7 separate regions of the Homo sapiens genome follow, and all the other regions are linked to region 7. Evidence: promoter capture Hi-C in human tissues and cell types (Jung and others, 2019). All regions are on one chromosome and are shown on one strand. The core of a region is centred on a gene start or on the middle of the fragment in contact, and the rest is flanking DNA. Distances in the headings are between cores, read along the strand shown. Region 1 overlaps JPT2 (Jupiter microtubule associated homolog 2). Region 2 holds the start of MAPK8IP3 (mitogen-activated protein kinase 8 interacting protein 3). Region 3 holds the start of CLCN7 (chloride voltage-gated channel 7). Region 4 overlaps UNKL (unk like zinc finger). Region 5 holds the start of UNKL (unk like zinc finger). Region 6 overlaps GNPTG (N-acetylglucosamine-1-phosphate transferase subunit gamma). Region 7 holds the start of METRN (meteorin, glial cell differentiation regulator).

Evidence for each region. The method cuts DNA at HindIII sites, captures the fragments that hold promoters and counts their contacts. A contact is called where the count stands out against the background at its distance.
Region 1: a contact is called between a fragment that was not itself captured here and the fragment with the promoter of METRN in region 7, in 1 of the 25 tissues and cell types used here (lymphoblastoid cells).
Region 2: the fragment with the promoter of MAPK8IP3 here is called in contact with the fragment with the promoter of METRN in region 7 in 1 of the 25 tissues and cell types used here (lymphoblastoid cells).
Region 3: the fragment with the promoter of CLCN7 here is called in contact with the fragment with the promoter of METRN in region 7 in 4 of the 25 tissues and cell types used here (dorsolateral prefrontal cortex, hippocampus, lymphoblastoid cells and 1 more).
Region 4: a contact is called between a fragment that was not itself captured here and the fragment with the promoter of METRN in region 7, in 4 of the 25 tissues and cell types used here (dorsolateral prefrontal cortex, heart left ventricle, lymphoblastoid cells and 1 more).
Region 5: the fragment with the promoter of UNKL here is called in contact with the fragment with the promoter of METRN in region 7 in 1 of the 25 tissues and cell types used here (dorsolateral prefrontal cortex).
Region 6: a contact is called between a fragment that was not itself captured here and the fragment with the promoter of METRN in region 7, in 2 of the 25 tissues and cell types used here (dorsolateral prefrontal cortex and lymphoblastoid cells).

The regions. Positions count from the first base shown.
Region 1 is chr16:1,688,597-1,691,296 of GRCh38, reverse strand. All of the region lies in intron 2 of JPT2 (Jupiter microtubule associated homolog 2), which reads right to left. Among named protein-coding and RNA genes, the nearest start is that of JPT2, 12 kb to the right of the region's middle. RefSeq lists an enhancer at 779-1,475. The HindIII fragment of the contact is 4,702 bases long and covers 1-2,700 here.
Region 2 is chr16:1,704,747-1,707,446 of GRCh38, reverse strand. It overlaps MAPK8IP3 (mitogen-activated protein kinase 8 interacting protein 3), which reads right to left and starts at 1,252. Exons shown (of 32, transcript NM_001318852.2): 1 at 790-1,252. The coding sequence starts at 1,107. RefSeq lists silencers at 709-758, 779-888, 1,159-1,498, 2,405-2,699 and an enhancer at 1,057-1,921. The HindIII fragment of the contact is 16,634 bases long and covers 1-2,700 here.
Region 3 is chr16:1,473,745-1,476,444 of GRCh38, reverse strand. CLCN7 (chloride voltage-gated channel 7) reads left to right here and starts at 1,417. Exons shown (of 25, transcript NM_001287.6): 1 at 1,417-1,611. The coding sequence starts at 1,471. RefSeq lists silencers at 995-1,344, 1,465-1,674 and an enhancer at 914-1,457. The HindIII fragment of the contact is 17,994 bases long and covers 1-2,700 here.
Region 4 is chr16:1,376,939-1,379,638 of GRCh38, reverse strand. All of the region lies in intron 10 of UNKL (unk like zinc finger), which reads left to right. Among named protein-coding and RNA genes, the nearest start is that of GNPTG, 26 kb to the right of the region's middle. RefSeq lists silencers at 1-6, 37-116, 157-206, 277-346. The HindIII fragment of the contact is 4,164 bases long and covers 1-2,700 here.
Region 5 is chr16:1,413,323-1,416,022 of GRCh38, reverse strand. It overlaps UNKL (unk like zinc finger), which reads left to right and starts at 1,319. Exons shown (of 15, transcript NM_001372107.1): 1 at 1,319-1,408; 2 at 1,968-2,177. The coding sequence starts at 1,332. RefSeq lists enhancers at 120-693, 694-1,268, 1,269-1,843, 1,844-2,418 and silencers at 915-984, 1,035-1,154, 1,695-1,744, 2,175-2,324. The HindIII fragment of the contact is 21,408 bases long and covers 1-2,700 here.
Region 6 is chr16:1,358,234-1,360,933 of GRCh38, reverse strand. All of the region lies in intron 3 of GNPTG (N-acetylglucosamine-1-phosphate transferase subunit gamma), which reads right to left. Among named protein-coding and RNA genes, the nearest start is that of GNPTG, 7.7 kb to the right of the region's middle. The HindIII fragment of the contact is 7,317 bases long and covers 1-2,700 here.
Region 7 is chr16:713,676-716,375 of GRCh38, reverse strand. METRN (meteorin, glial cell differentiation regulator) reads right to left here and starts at 1,258. Exons shown (of 4, transcript NM_024042.4): 1 at 983-1,258; 2 at 392-792. The coding sequence starts at 1,086. RefSeq lists enhancers at 1-447, 448-1,045, 1,644-2,242 and silencers at 500-559, 660-1,089, 1,190-1,499. The HindIII fragment of the contact is 3,141 bases long and covers 506-2,700 here.

The DNA of each region.
Region 1 (2,700 bases), core at 43-2,542, 970 kb before region 7:
TGTTGCCAACTATAAGTGACTTGATAAGCCATAATGAAAATGTGCGTCTAAGAGGTAACTTCCTAGTAGCAGGTGACTAAAGGCTAGATGCTCAGCATAAATGCCCGTGCCTAACATTCCACAGAAAGATGGCTACCCTGTGGGACCAACTGATCATCTCTTCACTCAGCAGACACCAAGCACCCACTTTTGACAAAGTGCTATGCTAAATGGAGGTTGGTGTCATTAAAATCATGGCCCTGGTGCACCAAGAACTTATAATCTAAGAGGAAAGAAGATGCATTCTGCTAACTTGCTGTGTGATCCTATGGAAGTTACTTGGCCTTTCTGTGTCCCACAGTCCTCATCTGTAGAATGGGGATAATAAAAGAACTCCCTCACAGGACTGGAAGAAAGCTCAGTGAGTTACTGTAGCTCATATGTCAAATGCTTACAACAGTGTCTGGGATGGAAATAAACATGTCAACTCTATTTTCTATGCAATGATAAAGAGGTATCTATACATATCATCCAGTGAAAACACAAGGGTGCAAACAATCCATATAGCATGCAGTGTTTTCATGTAAAAGGGGAAGTGTTCTTATTTGCTTTTATCTGAAGAAAAGCAGTTACCTGTGGGGGATGCCTACACGTGTGAAGAAACAGGACTGGGGAAATGCAGGGGCTCCACACTGCTTAACATGGTCTCCTTTTTTTGTTTACAGAGTTTTGATCTTTTGCATTTTCTGTTCTCGAAAAATTACATTTTGTAAATTGATTTATTTAACTTAAAGAGAGTTTATTCATGTGTAATGCTTGAGTATAGCCCACCTGGAAACACCAACTCCAAAGGAATGGAGTCAGTGTTCTGAAGTAGGGACATTAGGGTTTCATTTATATAGGCAGAGACAGAGGAGCTTTTAGCAGGACTACAAACTTTTCTCACACAAGGTTAGTGTACAGTTACAGCAATTTGGTTACAGGAAAAAACCACATATTCAACAGTTAATTCCTAGTGTTAACAATCCACACTGCTCCACAGAAGCAACCGGATGAAGAGCCCACGTGTGCTTGCGTGGAGATGAGGCTCGGCTGGGGGTCTGTGCACCTGCTCGTCTTCAGACCCGCTTGAGGGCCCCACTGCTGCGGCGGGGCCTAAAGCAGGGTGGCTTTCTGGGACACCAGTTCTAGGGGCCCAGAGTGCAGCGACAAGGAGGACTATAACAGAGCACAGCAAGTGGGGGGTCGGGCGGGCGTGTCTACCTTTTGCAGGTGGTAACAGAACACCTGGGGATATGCGGGACTCGCCCTGCAGAGAAATGTGTACATTTTTCACATGACTTCAGGGTGATAAACCTTCTGAACCTCAGCCATGGACCTCCCAGGGACCCACAGTCCCCAAGCTTGACACCCCTGGCCAGGGAGAGCAGCACAGCACGGTGGGGAGAGTGTCCTGTGGCCAGACTGCCTGGGTCAGGGAGTCTCTGCTCAGCTGCTCACTAACTGTGAGACCTTGGACAAGTTATGTCAACCTTCCTTCATATCCATCTTCTTAACTTTAAAAAGGTAACAAACAGTCCAAGTGCACTGGCTCACACCTGTAATCTTAGCACGGTGGGAGGCCAAGGTGGGAGGACTGCTTGAGTCCAGGAGTTCAATACTAGCGTGGGAAACAAGTGAGACCTTGTCTCTACAAAAATATTTTAAAATTAGCCTCTGGTCCCGCTCCTCAGAAGGTTGAGGTGAGAGGACTGCCTGAGCTCAGAAGTTGGAGGCGGTGAGCTGTGATGGTGCCACTGCACTGTAGCCTGGGTGACAGACTAAGATCCTGTCTCAAAAAACCAACAAAACAAAAAAAAGGTAATAAATAATCATACCTACCTAGGGTCACTGGTGAGGCTAAACAAGTTAACTCAGGTGACGTGGTTAGAATAGTCCTGGCCTGCTGAGTAAGCCCTCAGCAATGCTGCAGGGCTGTGTCAACAAGCACGTCAGGACCACGGGGCGGATAAAACTGTGTGTGCAACCCCCAGCCCCCACTGCAATGTTCCTGGCTGTGCTATAACGGCTGACTTTTTTTTTTTTTAATGTGACTCCAGCTTTTTAAAATAGAAGATAAAAGTAACTCAATTTGAAGTTTTTGGCCAAAGACATCACTCATTTTTAAAAAATAGTTAAACTGTGAAACATAACAGAAAAGTCTGTAAGACATTAACTATCACAAATAACTACAAGGCAGACACCAGGTAACCACTGCCAAAGTCATCGAGAACAGTGCCCGTTCCCAGAAACTCCTGTGTTCCTTCACTCTCACCCAAGGTTACCACACTCCTGAATTTTTTGGAAACCACAAACATTTTTACCACGTATACGTGCAATAGGTACTAAACAATGTACCTCTGCTTTTAACCTTCATAACTAGGTAGTCATACCACATATGTCTATTACCATTTTACTTGAAAAATAAATTCAGCTTTGAAGCAAGAAAACATGCTTAAATTCACTAATAATTGAAGATAAACTCGAGAGATGTTTTTTCCTCCTGCTAGATTTTTGATTTCCAAGGGCTCTGTGTTATTTTGTTTTTAAAAATATCATTTATTTATTTGGGAGATTGGGCCTCGCTATGTTGCCCAAGCCAGTTTCAAACTCCTGGGCTCAGGCAATCCTCCCACCTCGGCCTCCCAAAATGCTGGGATTACAGGCGTGAGCCACCGCACC
Region 2 (2,700 bases), core at 3-2,502, 990 kb before region 7:
TCCTCAGAAGCCAGAGTGGAGTTTCTCAGCCCTGGCTACATCAGCTAACAATCTCGCCAAGCAAGGAACCAAGGGGGCAAAGACATCACCTCCAGAAACTCGAGTGTTCCTTCTGCTGACAGAGGAGCAGCCCGCCTGCGGCCTTGTTCTGTGTTTACATCAACCACCCAATTCACCCGTGTCACAGACCTTCAAAATACGGGATTAGGGACAAGGGAAAGGTCTCCAACATCATCCACAGACGGCTGCAGCCCCCTAAGAACACCAAAAGATTCCTTTTCTAGATGGGTTTAGAATGGCAGCCAACAGAGGTAGCACTTGGGGTCGGGAAACGGTTTTGACTGAACACACGCACGAAAGCAAAGGCAATTGTCATGCAGAGGTGGGTGGGGAGGGGAGAGTGAGGCCTGGCTTTGAAGCTGAGCTCCCCGGGGATGACGCCAGGCACATCGGGTTTGGGGCTGAAGATTCAGGGCTGGGGGCACGGAGGAGGGGGCCAGGGCCCAGGCCTGGGCGGAAAAGGGGGTCCCCGGGAGTCGGGGTGGGGTCCCGGGGCAGGCGGGGGAGTGCTCTAGGGAGGTGTCTCACGGCGGGCAGAGGGGGTGGGGAAGTCCCGGGGCGGGGGATATGGGGTCCAGGCGGGTCTCGGGGCGGGGTCTGGGGGTCCAGGGGTCCCGCGGTCCGGGGTGCCGGAGCGGGGTCTGGGGTCGGGACGGGTGTTGGGTCCGGGGCCCGGGGCTGGCTGGGGGTCCGGGACGGGGATGCGGGCGGGTCCCGCGGCCCACGCACCTCCTCCGCCTGCCTGCGCAGCGCCTTCTCACGCTCGTACTGGGTGAGCAGCTGCTCGTTGTCCTCGCGCAGCAGCTCCAGCTCCACCTCGTGCTCCTGGTTCTCGCTGAGCACCGAGTCTAGGTTCTCCAGCACGTTCACCACCAGCGGCATGAGCTCCTTGACCACCTCCTCGTCGTAGCAGTGGATGAGGCGCTCGAACTCGCGGTAGATGGAGCCCGCCAGGCCCGACACCCGCTCCGACATCACCGAGCCGGAGCAGTAGTCGTCCTGGTACACCACCACGCCGCCGCCCTCGTCCATCTGGATCTCCATCATCGCGGCCACCGCCGCCGCCAGCGCGGCTCGCTATCCGGCCGGCGCGCCCGGCCCTCCCCAGCTGCCTCAGGTTCCGCAGGCCGCAGCCCGTCGCCTCCCGCAGCTGCTGTCGCCTCAGGGCTCCGCCGCCGCCGCTGCCGAGGCTGCGCCCGTCACTCACTCACCGGAAGTCCCGCCCTCCAGCCGGAGGGGGCGGTGCCCGCGCGTCCCGCCGCAGCCGCGCCGCCAGGGGGCGCAGGGGCCGTGACGTCAGAGGAAGCCGGGCTTCGGGCCGGAAGCGCGGGTGAGCCGGGCAGAGGGAGCTCCCGGCCAGGCCGGTGGGATCCGCGGGGCGGCAGTGGTCGCTTCCCCCAGCGCGCTGTAGCTTGATCATGTCCCCGCAACCGTGGGCTTCCGGTGACCTCGATCCCGTCTCCAGGCTCTGCACACTTCGGCGGACTTAGGTGAAGGCTCAGCGCCTGCGCCTCAATCCCGGCCGCCCTGATGAGCCTCCGTTCCCTACAGCACCGCGCCCCGCTCAGTGCCTCCCCTCTCCTGATGCCTTCCCCGCTCAGCTGGCTCCTCCCGGGATTCTGTGAATGCACCCTCAACGCCCATCTCATCCTGAAACCCAGCAGCGTGGCCTCCTTCCTTTCGCCCACTTCTCCCTACTGCACTGACTGCTTCAGATTTTCTTTTTTTTTTTTTTTTTTGAGATGGAGTCTTGCTCTGTCGCCCAGGCTGGAGTGCGGTGGCGCGATCCTGGCTCACTGCAAGCTCCGCCTTCTGGGTTCAAGTGATTCTTCTCCCTCAGCCTCCGGAGTAGCTGGGATTACAGACCAGCTAATTTTGTATTTTTAGTAGAGACGGGGTTTCGCCATGTTGGCCAGGCTGGTCTCAAATTTCTGATCTCAAGTGATCCGCCCGCCTCGACCTCCCAGAGTGCTGGGATGACAGGCGTGAGCCACCGCGCCAGTCCAGATTTTCGGTTACTTTTCAGCTACGTGCAATCTGTTTAACCCATCCACTGGGTTATTAATTGCACCGATTTTTTTTTTTTTGAGACGGTGTTTCGCTCTTGTCGCCCAGGCTGGAGTGTGATGGCGCGATCTCGGCTCACTGCAACCTTCGCCTCCTGGGTCCAAGCGATTCTCCTGCCTCAGCCTCCTGAGTAGCTGGGACTACAGACACGCGCTATTAACGCCCGGCTCATTTTTTTGTATTTTTAGTAGAGACGGGGTTTCACCATGTTGGCCAGGCTGGTCTTGAACTGCTGACCTCAAGTGATCCACCCGCCTCCCTCGGCGTCCCAAAGTGCTGGGATTACAGGCGTGAGCCACTGCACCCTGCCAATGATTCTGTTTTTGTCCTATTTGATTTCTTATATTCTAGCAGTTTTAATAGGCTCTTATACTTCCAACCACATATTTATCTTTAAGCGTTGGGTGTGCCTCATAACTACAGTATCTGCAGCCCTTGCAGGTCTGATTCTGCATGTCATCCTGGTTGACTCTTGGCCCAGGGTCCCCTTTCCCCCATTCTGAGCCAGTGTCCCCAGGACTTTTGTCTCTGGAAGTACTTGAGGCCTGAACTTAAAATGTGTTGCTCCGTAAG
Region 3 (2,700 bases), core at 168-2,667, 760 kb before region 7:
CAAAGTGAGACTGTGTCTCAAAAATAAAAAAATAATAATAATAATTTAAAAAAAGGCCGGGCACCGTGACTCACGCCTGTAATCTCAGCACTTTGGGAGGCCGAGGCGGGTGGATCACGAGGTCAGGAGATCGAGACCATCCTGGCTAACACAGTGAAACCCCATCTGTACTAAAAATACAAAAAATTAGCCGGCCATGGTGACGGGCGCCTGTAGTCCCGGCTACTCGGGAGGCTGAGGCATGAACCCGGGAGGCAGTGAGCCGAGATTGGGCCACTGCACTCCAACCTGGGCGACAGAGTGAGACTCCGTCTCAATAATAAAAATATCGACCTTTTAAAAGGAAGAGGATGAGGCACAAAATATAAAGAGTTTACTCTAGAGGCTAACGTGGAAGGATCACTTGAGGTCAGAAGTTTGAGAACAGCCTGGGCAACACACTGTGAGCTCCACAGCAAAAATTAGCCGGGTGTGGTGGTGCAGGCCTGTGGTCCCTGTTACTCCAGAGGCTGAGGCGGGAGGATGGCTTGAGTCCAGGAGGTCAAGGCTGCACTGAGCTGTGACCGCACCACCGCACTCCAGCCTGGGCGACAGAAGGAGACCCTGTCTCAAAATAAATAAATAAATGACCCAGAAGGTGGGGACAGGGTGGGGGCTGATGTAAAGCTGTCAAGAATTCTCTTTGGTTTATGGAAATACCATTGATTAGTGATGGGCTGTGCCCTGGTGCGGGTACAGGGTCCGGGCGGCTATTTGGCTAATTCACAGCTATCTGCGTAGTAGCCGGCAGTTTCCAGAGGCGACCCTCCTGTACTGTCTCTGGGGCCTGATCGTTGAAGAGGACTCGCCTTCTGTTCTTTTCTCATTAGGCGGGAGGACCCTCTGGGGCTGCCTGGAGGAAGCCTCCACTCCGACCCTCGCCCGAGTGCCTACTGCGAGGGCGGATGCATGCTTCGGGACTTCTAATTTCATCCTTCACGTCTTTAGCCGCCGCCTATGGCAAGGAAAGGCCTGCCCTCGCCCCTGCCTCCCTCCTCCCTTCCCCACCGCGGCTCCGTCACGATCGGCGCGGGCGACCGGGCCTGGGGGAGCCCCTCCAGCCGGCTCCTGCCCTCAGGCCCCGGGCGCTTCCCTCGCCCCGACTCCCGGGCCCGAGGTCCCGGGGGCGGCCATTCGCCTCCCAAGCACTCGGCGCTCAGCCCAACGGGGCCGCCTTTGCAGTCGCGTGGGCAGAACGGGGTCCTCAGGGCCGCGGCGATTCTCTAGGGCGGGCGGCGCCACGACCCGCCGGGAGCGCGGCTCCCAGGAGCCCCCGCGCGACCGGGCCTCGGTGGTTGCCGTTGCAGGTCACATGGTCGCCGTCGCTCATCACGTGGCCCCGTCGCGCGTCACGTGGCCGCCGGCGCGGGTCACGAGAACAAACACGGGGGCAGCCGGCGCTTCCCGGCCGGTGTCGCTCCGCGGCGGGCCATGGCCAACGTCTCTAAGAAGGTGTCCTGGTCCGGCCGGGACCGGGACGACGAGGAGGCGGCGCCGCTGCTGCGGAGGACGGCGCGGCCCGGCGGGGGGACGCCGCTGCTGAACGGGGCTGGGCCTGGGGCTGCGCGCCAGGTGAGGCCGGGCAGGGCGCAGGCGGGGAAACTGAGCCCTCGTGCGCCCCGCAGCCCGCGCCCTCGTGAGCCTTCTGGCGGCGCCGCGTGTCTCGGTCCTGGAGGCGACCGAGGCGCGGTGGACTCGGGAACGCGCCCCGGGGCTCCTCGGCGGGGCCGGGCTGGCGGGGGCGCCTGGGGTCTGGAGTCTTCGGAGGCCGCGCCGGGCTCGGTGGCCGGGAGGGCTGCGTGGGCGAGGCGGAGCTCGCCAGACCCCGCGGAATGTGGGGCGCTGAGGGGCGCCGGGGCAGCCGTGGCGCACGTTCATTCCCTCCGGTGTCCCCCAGACTGGCCCTAAAGGGGTGCAAGTGGCTTTCTGTTCAGGTGACTTTTAAAAATTGTCATCCTACACGAGCAACTAATTTTGTTTGCGTTTTTGACCCCCTGGGAGATGGAAACAGTTAAGATTGCAGCCGGGTCACTGTCTTTCAGTGAGAATGACTGAGCGCCTTTATCTGCCATCTTTCTGTGTGGGGATCAGTCCCGACTTTCAGGTGATCTTGGGAGTGACGAGTATTTGTACTCAGTCTCCCTTCGCACCGAGTTGAATTTGCAATGTGCAGGCAAACACAATAAGCAGCAAGTCAGAGGTTGGAATGCGTTCCGCATGTCACCCTGCAGCGTGCGTCTGAGCAGTGTTAAGGTCTGGAGAACCGTTGCGGGTACATTTGTTTCCCTGTCTGTGTATTGTCTTAATATTTTTTTTTTTTTGAGACGGAGTTTCACTGTAGTTGCCCAGGCTGGAGTGCAATGGCGCGATCTCGGCTCACTGCAACCCCCACCTCCCGAGTTTAAGTGACTCTCCTGCCTCAGCCTCCTGAGTAGCTGGAATTACAGGCGTGCGCCACCGCGCCCGGCTAATTTTGTATTTTTAGTAGAGACGGGGTTCCTCCGTGTTGGTCAGGCTGGCCTCGAACTCCCGACCTCACGTGATCCCCCGCACCTCAGCCTCCCAAAGTGCTGGGATTACAGGCGTGAGCCACTGCGCCTGGCCGTATTGTGTTACTTTTGAGTTAATGGACCGTTTTGTTGATGGGTCTTAATCTGCTTT
Region 4 (2,700 bases), core at 121-2,620, 660 kb before region 7:
AGCATTGGCGGCGGCCCCAGCGCGTGGCAGCCGTGCGCCGCCAAGGTGCGGGTCTCGTTACTCGGCGGTCAGGAGCGGGCCCTCCCTTAGGTGCGCCCCCCGCCAGGTGCGTCCCCCGCGTCACGGAGCCGGGTGTGACAGCCGCGGGGTGGGCCCGGGCTTCTCAGAGGCCCGGAGCGAGGCGAAGGCGTCGCCTTCTCGGAACCTGCCTCTGCCGGGCGCTCGCCGCTTCCCAGCGCGGGCTCGGGCCGCCTGCGTCCCCTAGCTAGGCGGGGTCGGTGCCCCGAGGGAGGGCAGGGGAGCGGGGCAGGAGAGCGGAGCGGAGCGGGGCAGGAGAGGGCAGGGGAACGGGGCGGGGGAGGGCCGACCCCTGCGTCCTGGCCTGGCCCGCCTGCACTCAGCCCGCGTGGTACGGGAATTTCCCTGGCGTCGGCGGCTCCCCCGCCCTGTCCTGAGTTCCGAGCAGTCTGTAGCTTGTCCTCGCGTGTCCCTGACCCCGGGGGACCGCGGCGCCTTGAATGTGCTGTGTCACGGCAGAGCCGGGCTGTGTCGCGGTGACTCAGCGGGGCCGGTGGTTTCCTAACGCCCGGGGCTGAGGCAGCCTGGCCTGACCCAGCTGTACTCGCTTAGGTGACCAGCCTCACCTAGATTTTGCCTCTGCACAAGGGTCAGCTCTTTCTTTGAGAATGTTTCAGAAGATCTGGGTCTAACCTTGAAACAGTGAGGTGAGGTGGGGGAGAAGCTGCGGGTGAGAAAGTGGGCCAGGACGGTGCAGCAGCCGTCTCCCCCCTTGATTTCTGGGAGTGAGCCCTAGATAGCACCCTAGGGGTGGTGGAGCCTCCAGGACCCTCTCCGGTGCTCTCTTTGGATGAGGGGCACTTGGCTTTGAAGCGGGGCCGGAGTCTCTCGGGGGCACCCACACGCTCCCTGAACGTCCCCTCTCCAGGCAGCTTCCCGGGCTTCAGCACAGGTGACTTGGCTGAGGTAGGTGGTGGCTGACGCCCTCTGAGTTGAGTGCGAGCCGTAGTTTGTCGGGTGAGCATTGAAGGCAGCTTAGCCCCTCCACATGCTGCGCACTCTGCAGCTGGTGGGTGAAGCTTCTGCCGACTTAGCACGGAGCCTGGTGGGATCACCCCACTCCAAGGGGAGAAAAGGCGCCTCCGTTCCTGTCCCCCAACTTCTTTGCGTCTTTGATTTTCATGAGGAGTTTCTGGATCTCTGCCAGGTGTGAGGGGCGGTGAGCTCTGAAGGGGCTGCCATATCCTGATCCTGGGACTTGGGTGCAGAGGGCAGGTCCAGGTTCCCGAGCCTGGCTGACCTGACTATGGGCAAACCGCTTGGCCCTGCCCGTCATCAAGCCCCCGTATGGGAGCATGAGGGGGCTGTGGGCAGGCCTGCGGGTTGGGGGGTCGGTGCCTGTCCTCAGTGAGTCTGTCCAGGGCCCTGACATGGTTCAGGCTGACACCTGCAAGGATGTAGTGGGGGGCATTCCATGCAGGGCTTGGAGGCCGAGCAGCTTTCTGGGGACTGGTGTGGCTGATCTTACTGAATGGAAGGCACAGCCAGGCTGAGCCTGCAGTGGCACAGCAGGTTAGGAGCCCGGCAAAGGACCCATTGGGAAGCGGTGACCGGCACGCGCAAGGGCACAAGCTTCCTCCTTTCTTGCAGGTCAGGATTCAGGATGCAATGAGGCTTTTCTTGGTAGGAAGGTTACTATTGCAATGCATGAAGGCAGGCTGGGCATGGGCCTCAGGGGGTGTGGGTTGAGCGAGCAGCCCATGAGGAAGGGATCCTGCAGTGCCAGCTTCCAGCAGCCCCTGCACACGTGGTGTCTGGGAAGGGCCTGCAGTGGGGCCATGGGAACAAGCAAGGGATCCTTTGCCAGGGAGGAGGAAGGGCTTTGGCCCCTGCTGGACATCTGGGCTCGGGGCTGCAGAGCCACTGTGTTGGGCGGGTCCAGGCCACAGGAGAGGCTGCCAGCCCTCAGGGAGGAGGGTGGGCCTGGGAGGGAAGCTGGTGCCTATGACAAGAGGCAGTTCAGGGCACAGGCGCAGGGCTGGAGGGAAGGGCCCGGGGCAGCGGTGGGCAGAGTGAGTGGTGAGGAGGCCCCAGAAAACAGCTGCAGGGGGAGTGGAGGCAGAGGGGGGGTCTCCTTTCTGAGGGAGGACTCAGGGAGGGAGGGCTGTGCACAGCAGGGGCCAGATCTGTTGATACAGAGTCCTGAGGGGCCTGGGGAGGACGGGCAGGACCAACAGGGGCATCTGCAGGTGGGCCCCCATGTCCTGGGTTGAATTGTGTCCCCTGAAAGTTGCATTTGAGGCTGGGCATGGTGGCTTGCACCTGTAATCCCAGCACTTTGGGAGATGAGGCAAGCAGATCACCTGAGGTGGGGAGTTCATGACCAGCCTGACCAACATAGAGAAAACCTGTCTCTACTAAAAATGCAAAATTAGCTGGGGGTGGTGGAGGGCACCTGTAGTCCCAGCTGCTCAGGAGGCTGAGGCAGGAGAATAGCTTGAACCTGGGAGGCGGAGGTTGCAGTGAGCTGAGATCGCGCCATTGCACTCCAGCCTGGGTGACAGAGCAAGACTCTATCTCGGTTGGGGGGGCTGGGTGTGGCGGGGGAAGATGCACCTGAACCCCAGGCGTCGCACCTAGGTACGTGGCGTTGCAGGGAAACACAGCAGGTCCTCTTATCCC
Region 5 (2,700 bases), core at 70-2,569, 700 kb before region 7:
AAATGGGCCCATTTTTCTTTTCGTTTTTTTTTTTTTTTTTTTTTTTTTTTTTTGAGACGGAGTCTCGCTCTGTTGCCCAGGCTGGAGTGCAGTGGCGCGATCTCGGCTCACTGCAAGCTCCGCCTCCTGGGTTCAAGTGATTCTCCTGCCTTAGCCTCCTGAGTAGCTGGGACTACAGGTGCCCACCACCACGCCCGGGTAATTTTTTTTTTTTTTTTTGTATTTTTAGTAGAGACGGGGTTTCACCGTGTTAGCCAGGATGGTCTCGATCTTCTGACCTCGTGATCCGCCCACCTCGGCCTCTCAAAGTGCAGGGATTATAGGCGTGAGCCACCGCGCCCGGCCAATGGGCACATTTTTCATATCACTAAAAATTTCTTTTTTATTTTTTGAGACAGGGTGTTACTCTGTCACCCAGGCTGGAGTGCAGTGGCGCAATCTCGGCTCACTACTAAACCTCCGCCTCCCGGGTTCACGCCATTCTCCTGCCTCAGCCTCCGGAGTAGCAGGAATTACAGGCGCAAGCCACCACACCCCACTAATATTTTTGTATGTTTAGTAGAGACGGGGTTTCACTGTTGGCCAAGCTGTTGTCAAACTCCCGAACTCAGCTGATCCGCCGGCCTCGGCCTCCCAAAGTGCTGGGATTACAGGCGTGAGACACCGCGCCCGGCCTCCTACCACTAAAAATTCTTCGGAAGCACTGTTTCAAATCACGCAGAGCACTTAGAGTTTTCCCTTTTCTCAGCTACTGCGCTGTTGGGGGAAGGGGGACCTCAAGTGTTTGCAAAATAACTGTGATAATTACCTTTGTAGATAAATCTCTGAGTATAAGTTTTTGAGGTCAAGGTTCGAAATGGAACAAATTCCTTTCTACAAAGGCCAGGACCCCTTGGCCCTTCCGCCCGGTGCCTGGCTCCCCCTGACATCAGCCTCTTGGTTCGTTTGTGGAAGAGCAGCTCTATTGAGATACAACTCTTGTGATTAATTCATGTAAAATACACGGTTATGTCGGGTCATGTCACAGCAGGGGCGACCATCGCGGGTCCCACGCGCGGCCCCGGGCAGGACCAGCGTCCCGGGCCGGGGGCTGCAGGGCAGGGCAGGGCAGGGCAGGGCAGGGCAGGGCAGGGCAGGGCAGGGCGGGGCGCGGGGCTGGGGCGGGGTCTGCGGGCCGGGGGCGGGGCTGCGGGGGGCGCGGGGCTGGGGCGGGGCCGGGGTCTGCGGGCTGGGGGCGGGGCCGCGGGGGGCGTGGCCGCGGGGGCGCGCGGGGATATCCGGGGGCGGGGGCGCCGGCGCGGCGCATGCGCGCTGCATTGTTTTGACTGAAAATGCCGTCGGTTTCGAAAGCGGCGGCAGCGGCGCTGAGCGGGTCCCCCCCGCAGACTGAGAAGCCGACCCACTACAGGTCAGCGCCCGTCCGGCCTGCGGCCCCCCGCCCGCGCCCGGTGCAGCTCGGAGCCTCCCGCCGGGGCTCGCGCCGCCTCCGCCGCCCCCGCGCCCCCCGGCCTCCGCGCAGCGCCTGGGCTGGGGGGGCCACGACCCTCTGCTCTCGGCGGCCTCCGCCTGAGGTCGGAGCGCGGCGCCCATGGTCTGGGATGGCACCTGGTTCCGGGGTCCACGCGCCTCTGGGGAGGGAGGAACGCCCCGGGGTTGGGGGTTGCGCCTGGGCTCGGGGACCGGGACCCTCTGCTCCGGCTGCCGACCGTGAGGTCACAGCGGGTCGCCCAGGGTCCGGGGTGGCGCTTGGGCTTGGGGACCAGGGTCAGCGCCTGGGCTACGAGGTCGGGTGAGGGTCGCGTCTGGAGTCGGGATGGGGGTGGGCGCAGCGCCTGGGGCCCGCCGGGAATGTGAGTACGGGTCGACCCTGGGTTGAGGCTCCTGAGGCCGGTGGGTCCCGCCGCCCACGAGTCCGAGTCCCTGGAGGTGCTGCCGGAAGCGAGCCGCGGCGCTGTCTGTGTTTGTAGGTACCTGAAGGAGTTCAGGACGGAGCAGTGCCCCCTGTTTTCACAGCACAAGTGCGCGCAGCACCGGCCGTTCACCTGCTTCCACTGGCACTTCCTCAACCAGCGGCGCCGCAGGCCCCTCCGCAGGCGCGACGGCACCTTCAACTACAGCCCCGACGTGTACTGCTCCAAGTACAACGAAGCCACCGGCGTGTGCCCCGACGGCGACGAGTAAGCGGCCGCGAGGGGGCGCCGCTGCCTGGGCGGAGGTGGGGGGCCTCCACCCGGGGATGCGGCCGGGACCCTCAGCGGACGCCTTAGTGTCCATACCTGGCCCCTGCAGAGGGAGTCGTAATTATACGCTGAAATTTTCTAGTGACCAGGGATGCTGGGGCGGCATTTCCTATTCTCAGGCCAGTTCCCGAGGGATTATGTGTGTTTTAGGGGTAACCCTTGTGTGACTCAAACCAATTTTGCTTCACCTCCCACTTTTTTTTGTTTGTTTTTTGAGACGGAGTTTCACTCTTGTTGCTCTGGCTGGAGTGCAATGGCATGATCTCGGCTCACTGCAGCCTCTACCTCCCAGGTTCAAGTGATTCTCCTGCCTCAGCCTCCGGAGTAGCTGGGATTACAGGCATGTGCCACCATGCCCAGCTAATTTTTTATTTTTAGTAGAGACAGGGTTTCTCCATGTTGGTTAGGCTTGTCTCGAACTCCCAACCTCAGGTGATCCACCCACCTCGGCCTCCCAAAG
Region 6 (2,700 bases), core at 1-2,500, 640 kb before region 7:
GAGGACATTCCCAGATAAAAGCTTCAGGAGTTGGTTACATGCAGGCCGGTGTGCCACCCGGGGAAGTGAGCAGACAGCAGCTCAGCGGAGGCAGACGGAGGTCCTCGTGCAGGGTGAATTAATACCAGTTGCCTTTCTAGCTATGGTCTGTAAAGCTACAGGACTTAAACCAGTGGTCCCCAATCTTTTTGGCACCAGGGACTGGTTTCATGGAAGGCAGTTTTTCTACCAGCCGGGGGTGGGGATGGGTGGTTTGGGGATGAAACTGTTCCACCTCAGCTCATCAGGCATTAGATTCTTTTTTTTCTTTTGGAGACAGTCTCACTCTGTCACCCAAGGTGAAATGCAGTGGCGCGATCTCGGCTCACTGCAACCTCCGCCTCCTGGGTTCAAGTGATTCCCCTGCCTCAGCCTCCCGAGTAGCTGGGATCCCACGTGCCCGCCACCACGCCCAGCTAATTTTTGTATCTTCAGCAGAGGCGGGGTTTCACTGTGTTGGCCAGGCTGGTCTGCAACTGTGGACCTGAAGTGATCCGTCCACCTTGGCCTCCCAAGTGCTGGGATTACAGGTGTGAGCCACTATGCCCGGCCTGAAAGACTAACTTCAGATTTAAAGACATAAACAGGTTGAAAGTGAAGGTATGGAAAAGTATTCATATAAACAGGCAAAAGAGAGCTGAAGTGGCTGAAACTATTTTAAGAGACAAAGATGTTATACATTGATAAAAGGGTCAATGTGCCAAGACACCACAATTATCCACGCACAAACAGTGCCACCCACTACATAAAGCTGACATGAGACATCCATACGCCACTTTTTTTTTTTTGAGACGGAGTCTAGCATTGTCGCCAGGCTGGATTGCAGTGGCACGATCTTGGCTCACTACAATCTCCACCACTGGGTTCAACCGATTTTCCCGCCTCAGTCTCCCCAGTAGCTAGGATTACCGGTGCCTGCCATCACGGCTGGCTAATTTTTGTATTTTTGTAGAGACGGGGTTTCTCCATGTTGGCCAGGATGGTCTCAAACTCCTGACCTCAGGTGATCCACCTGCCTCAGCCTCCTAAAGTACTGGGATTACAGGCGTGAGCCCCAGCGCCCAGCCTGATGGATTCAATATTTTTAAGATGACAATACCACCCAGAGTGATCTGCAGATTCAATGCAACCCCATCAAAACCCCAATGACAGTTTTTGCAGAAATAGAAAAACACATCCTAAAGTTCATAGGGAGTCTCAGAGGACCCCAAATCATCGAACAAATCTTAAAGACAGAGTTGAGAGACTCGTACATACTGATTCCAAAAATTACTTCAAAGCTGTTATGATCAAAACAGTGTGATACTGGCATAAAGACTGGCATAGAGGCCGGGCGCAGGGTCTCACGCCTGTAATCCCAGTGCTTTGGGAGGCCGAGGCAGACGGATCACGAAGTCAGGAGATCGAGACCATCCTGGCCAACATGGTGAAACCTGATCTCTAATAAAGTACAAAAAAATTAGCCAGGCGTGATGGCGGATGCCTGCAGTCCCAGCTACTCGGGAGGCTGAGGCAGGAGAATTCCTTGAGCCTGGGAGGTGGAGAGGTTGCCGTGAGCCAAGATCGTGCTACTGCACTCCAGCCTGGGCTACAGAGTTAGACTCTATATGGAAAAAAAAACAAACCCATCAAGGGAGTGAAAAGACAACCCACAGAATGGGAGAAAATAAACACTGGCAAACCACGTATGTAAGAGACTCACATCCAGAACACAGAACTACAGCCCAACAATAAACTCAAGTTAAAAATGGGCAGAGAAGCCGGGAATCCCAGCACTTCGGGAGGCCGAGGCAGGCGGATCATGAGGTCAGGAGTTTGAGACCAGCCTGGCCAACATGGTGAAACCCCGTCTCTACTAAATAAAAATGAGCCAGGTGTGGTGGCTCACGCCTGTAATCCCAGCTACTTGAGAGGCTGAGGCAGGAGAATCGCCTGAGCCTGGGAGGCAGAGCTTGCAGTGAGCCAAGATGGCGCCACTGTACTCCAGTCTGGGCCACAGAGTGAGACTCCATCTCAAAAAAAAAAAAGGACAAACACCATAAGCAACTGAAAAGATCCCACATGACTGATCATTAGGGAAATGCAAATTAAAACAACCCTAAGGTACCGCTTCACACCCACTAGGATGGCTGTTAGCAAAAAACAGTGTTGGTGAAAATGTGGAGAAACTGGACCCCTCGTGCAATGCTGGCTGGAATGGGAAACGGTGCAGCCACTATGCAAACAGTTTGGTGGTTCCTCAAAAAGCTAAACATGGAATTCTAATAAGATCCAGCAAAGCTACTCTCAGAAATTGGAAGCAGAGACTCAAATATTTACACCCAAGTTCACAGCAGCCTATTCCCAGGCAGAGGGTGGAAGCCACTCCAGTGTCCATGGACAGATGACGGGTAAACAACAACGTGGTCTGTCCTTGCAGTGGAACAGTCCTCAGCCATATAAAAAGGAAGCACTGAGAGCCTCCAGCCTGGGGGACCTTGGGGACACTGTGCCAAGAGGAGTTGGTCAGACACAAAAGGTCGCACACAGTTATGAGTCACCTATGTGACGTCTATGAATAGCCAAGTTCAGAGACAGCAGAATGGTGGGTGCCGGGGCTGGGGGAGCGGGGCAGCTGGGAGTCAGGGTTTGAAGGGGACAGAGCAAGTTGTGGAGATGATG
Region 7 (2,700 bases), core at 9-2,508:
CACACTGGACTTTTGTTGGTTGGGCTGGGGGAGGGGAGAGAGGTCACCGCTGGGCCAGGGAGCCCCGGACAGCTTTGGCCGGAGGCTTCGATTCTGTCCCCACCATCTCTTCCCCCAACCGTTCAGGGACCAGAGGCCCAGGATTGCTGGGCCCGGCCTCCCCTTCCCTCCACTCTGCCCCTGCCAGCTCTTTCCAGAGATGAATCGGGAAGGGAGGGCGGGGAGGCCATCCCTCCCCAGCAGTCCCAGGCTGTGTGGCCTGACAAGCCCATCCAACCCTTGTAGCTCACTTTTTCCTTCTGCAGTGGGGCCGACAAGGCACATTCCCGCCAAGCCCAGGCAGGGTAAGACTTCGGGACTCCCACCCTGTCCCAACCAGACCGCCACTCACCGTCTACGCCGAGACCGTGGGCCTGCGGGGGCAGCTCGGGGCGCCCGTCCTCGCGCAGCTCAAAGCGGAAGGCGGCCACGCGGCGGCTGATGTCCTGGTGCGGCGTGGCCTGCAGGAAGAGGGCCCGGCGCTCGCGGGGACCCCAGCGCACGCAGCGGCCCCCTGCCGGGCCCGGGCCCTCGGCCAGCAGCAGCTCCAGGGCGCCCCCTGCGCGCTCCGCGAAGACCTGGGCGCCCGCGAAGGGCCGCACCGGCCGCAGACAGGCGATGCCGGGCCGCGCTCTGGGATCGGGGCCGCCCAGGGTCAGGCGCAGCGCCCCAGCCGGGTACAGCCACTCAACCGCGCCCTCCGCACAGGCCAGGGCCAGCTGCCCCACGCTGCCGGGCTCCTGGGTGAGGCCGCTGGGGACAGGACGGGACGGGGCGCTGAGACGGGGGCGGGTCCCCGCCCGGCGCAGCCCCCGCTCCCTCCCGAGGCCGCCTCGCGGATGGGGAAACCGGCCCAGCGCTCTGCGCGCTCCGAGGGGCGCCTGGGGGGTCCTAGCCGCAGCGCACCCCGTCCTAAGTGCGGGGACAGCCCCCCGGACCGTACCTGCCCCTCCAGCTGCAGCGCTCCTCGGAGTAGCCGGCGCGGGCAGCCGGGGCCAGGAGGCCGCAGCACAGCGCGCAGAGCAGCGCCGCGGCCGGGAACCCCATGGCACGGCGGGCGGCGTCCGGGGAGTCGGGGCTCTCACCACCGCTGCCCCGGCGGGGCGCGGGTCCGGGCGGCGGCGGGAGCAGCCGGGGGCGCCGGCCGCCCGGCCCCGGCGAAGCCCCCAAGCCCGCGGCCGCTCCGCCTGCCGCGCAGCCCCAGCGCCGGGGCCGCCTTGGAGCGGGTCGGGAAGGGGGCGGGGCCTGCGGCGTGTCGGCCAGTCGCGGCGCGGCCCGGAACTTTCCGCCAATAGCAGGCGCGGGGCGGAGCGGGGGCGGGGCCGGAGCTCGGGCGCCGCCGGAGGACTATCCCACGGTCCAAGCGCCTCGAGGGTTGGGGGGGGCCTTGGCGCGGAAGGGAGGCTCCTTGCCCGCCCCGCGCTGTGCGTCTCTCCTTCGCCGCGCCCTCACCCTGGCCTCGCCCCCCGCGCTGTCCCGATCGGAGTCCTGGAGCCTCTGATGGAGCCGAGGTTTTGATGTCCACTGGAACCTCGGGGTGGCGGTAGGGAAGGTGGCCCACCTGGTGGTTCCGCCTCGCGGGCGGCCGGGCCTGCTCCTTCCTAACACTGGGACCTGGGCCTGTTGGCCACATCCCTCCCAACCAGGTCCGGTCCTGCTGACCAGAGGCCGGTGGAGCCCCAGAGGAGAGGGGTCATGACTCCAGAGGCGGGGAAGGCCTGGCCTGGGGGCTGCGCCTTGGAGCGGGGCCAGGCCTCGGGTTTTGGTAAGGCCGTCTGCAGGAGGGGGTCCTGCTGAAGAGCGCGCAGCCCGCAGGCTTAGGCCCCTTTCCTCAGACCTAGCGGCACCCCATAGTTGCCGGATGACCGACCCCGGGCCAGACGGGGCTCCTGGAGGGGCGTGAATGGAGCAGCCACGGGCACCCCTGCAGGCCTGCAGCACGTGGAGACACAGGAGCTGGGAGGACACCCCTGGGCCACAGGAGCAGCCCCCACCAAGATGAAACAAGCAGAAACAGGCGATTCGCAAACACACTGTAGCCTCAGGCTGGAGCAGTGTGGGATTCCCAGCATCCGGGACTGCTGAGTTGGCCTGATGGGAGGAAGTGGGCAGTGGCTGGCCAGGTGGACAGGAAGAGAATGGGGGAGAGCAGACAGCCTGGGTCAAGGGCCTGAGGAAGGAGCTCTTGGCAGCCCAGTGAAACCCCAGGGCATGGGTGGTGGGTGGGGACGACAGGTCAGATCACAGAAGGCCTAAGGCACAAGCAAAGGGGTCCCACTACATACTGAACCCCTTACGGACGACAGAAGCTTTAGCCGGGGACTGCAAGGACCAGCATAGACTGTGCAGCCTGAAGATGTGAACATTCCGTCCCCTGCCCCCAAACCTCCTGCCACCCGGCGCTCGAAACTCATGGTGGACAGATGAGTTCACCAGTGGCAGTCGGACAGATGAGGCCAGATGGCTCAGTGGCAGTGGGAGGCTGGATCCCACTGACCAGGCCCTCCCTCAACCCCAGGGCCCTCCCAGGCCAAACAGGAACAAGGCGCCTACTGGGCTCGGCCAGCCCCTTGCTCTGGGCGAGGTGCAGGTCAGAAGTAGCCATCACAATCCCCAAAAGGTGGAAGACTCCCAAAGGCCTGTCTGCAGCTGAGTGGACAA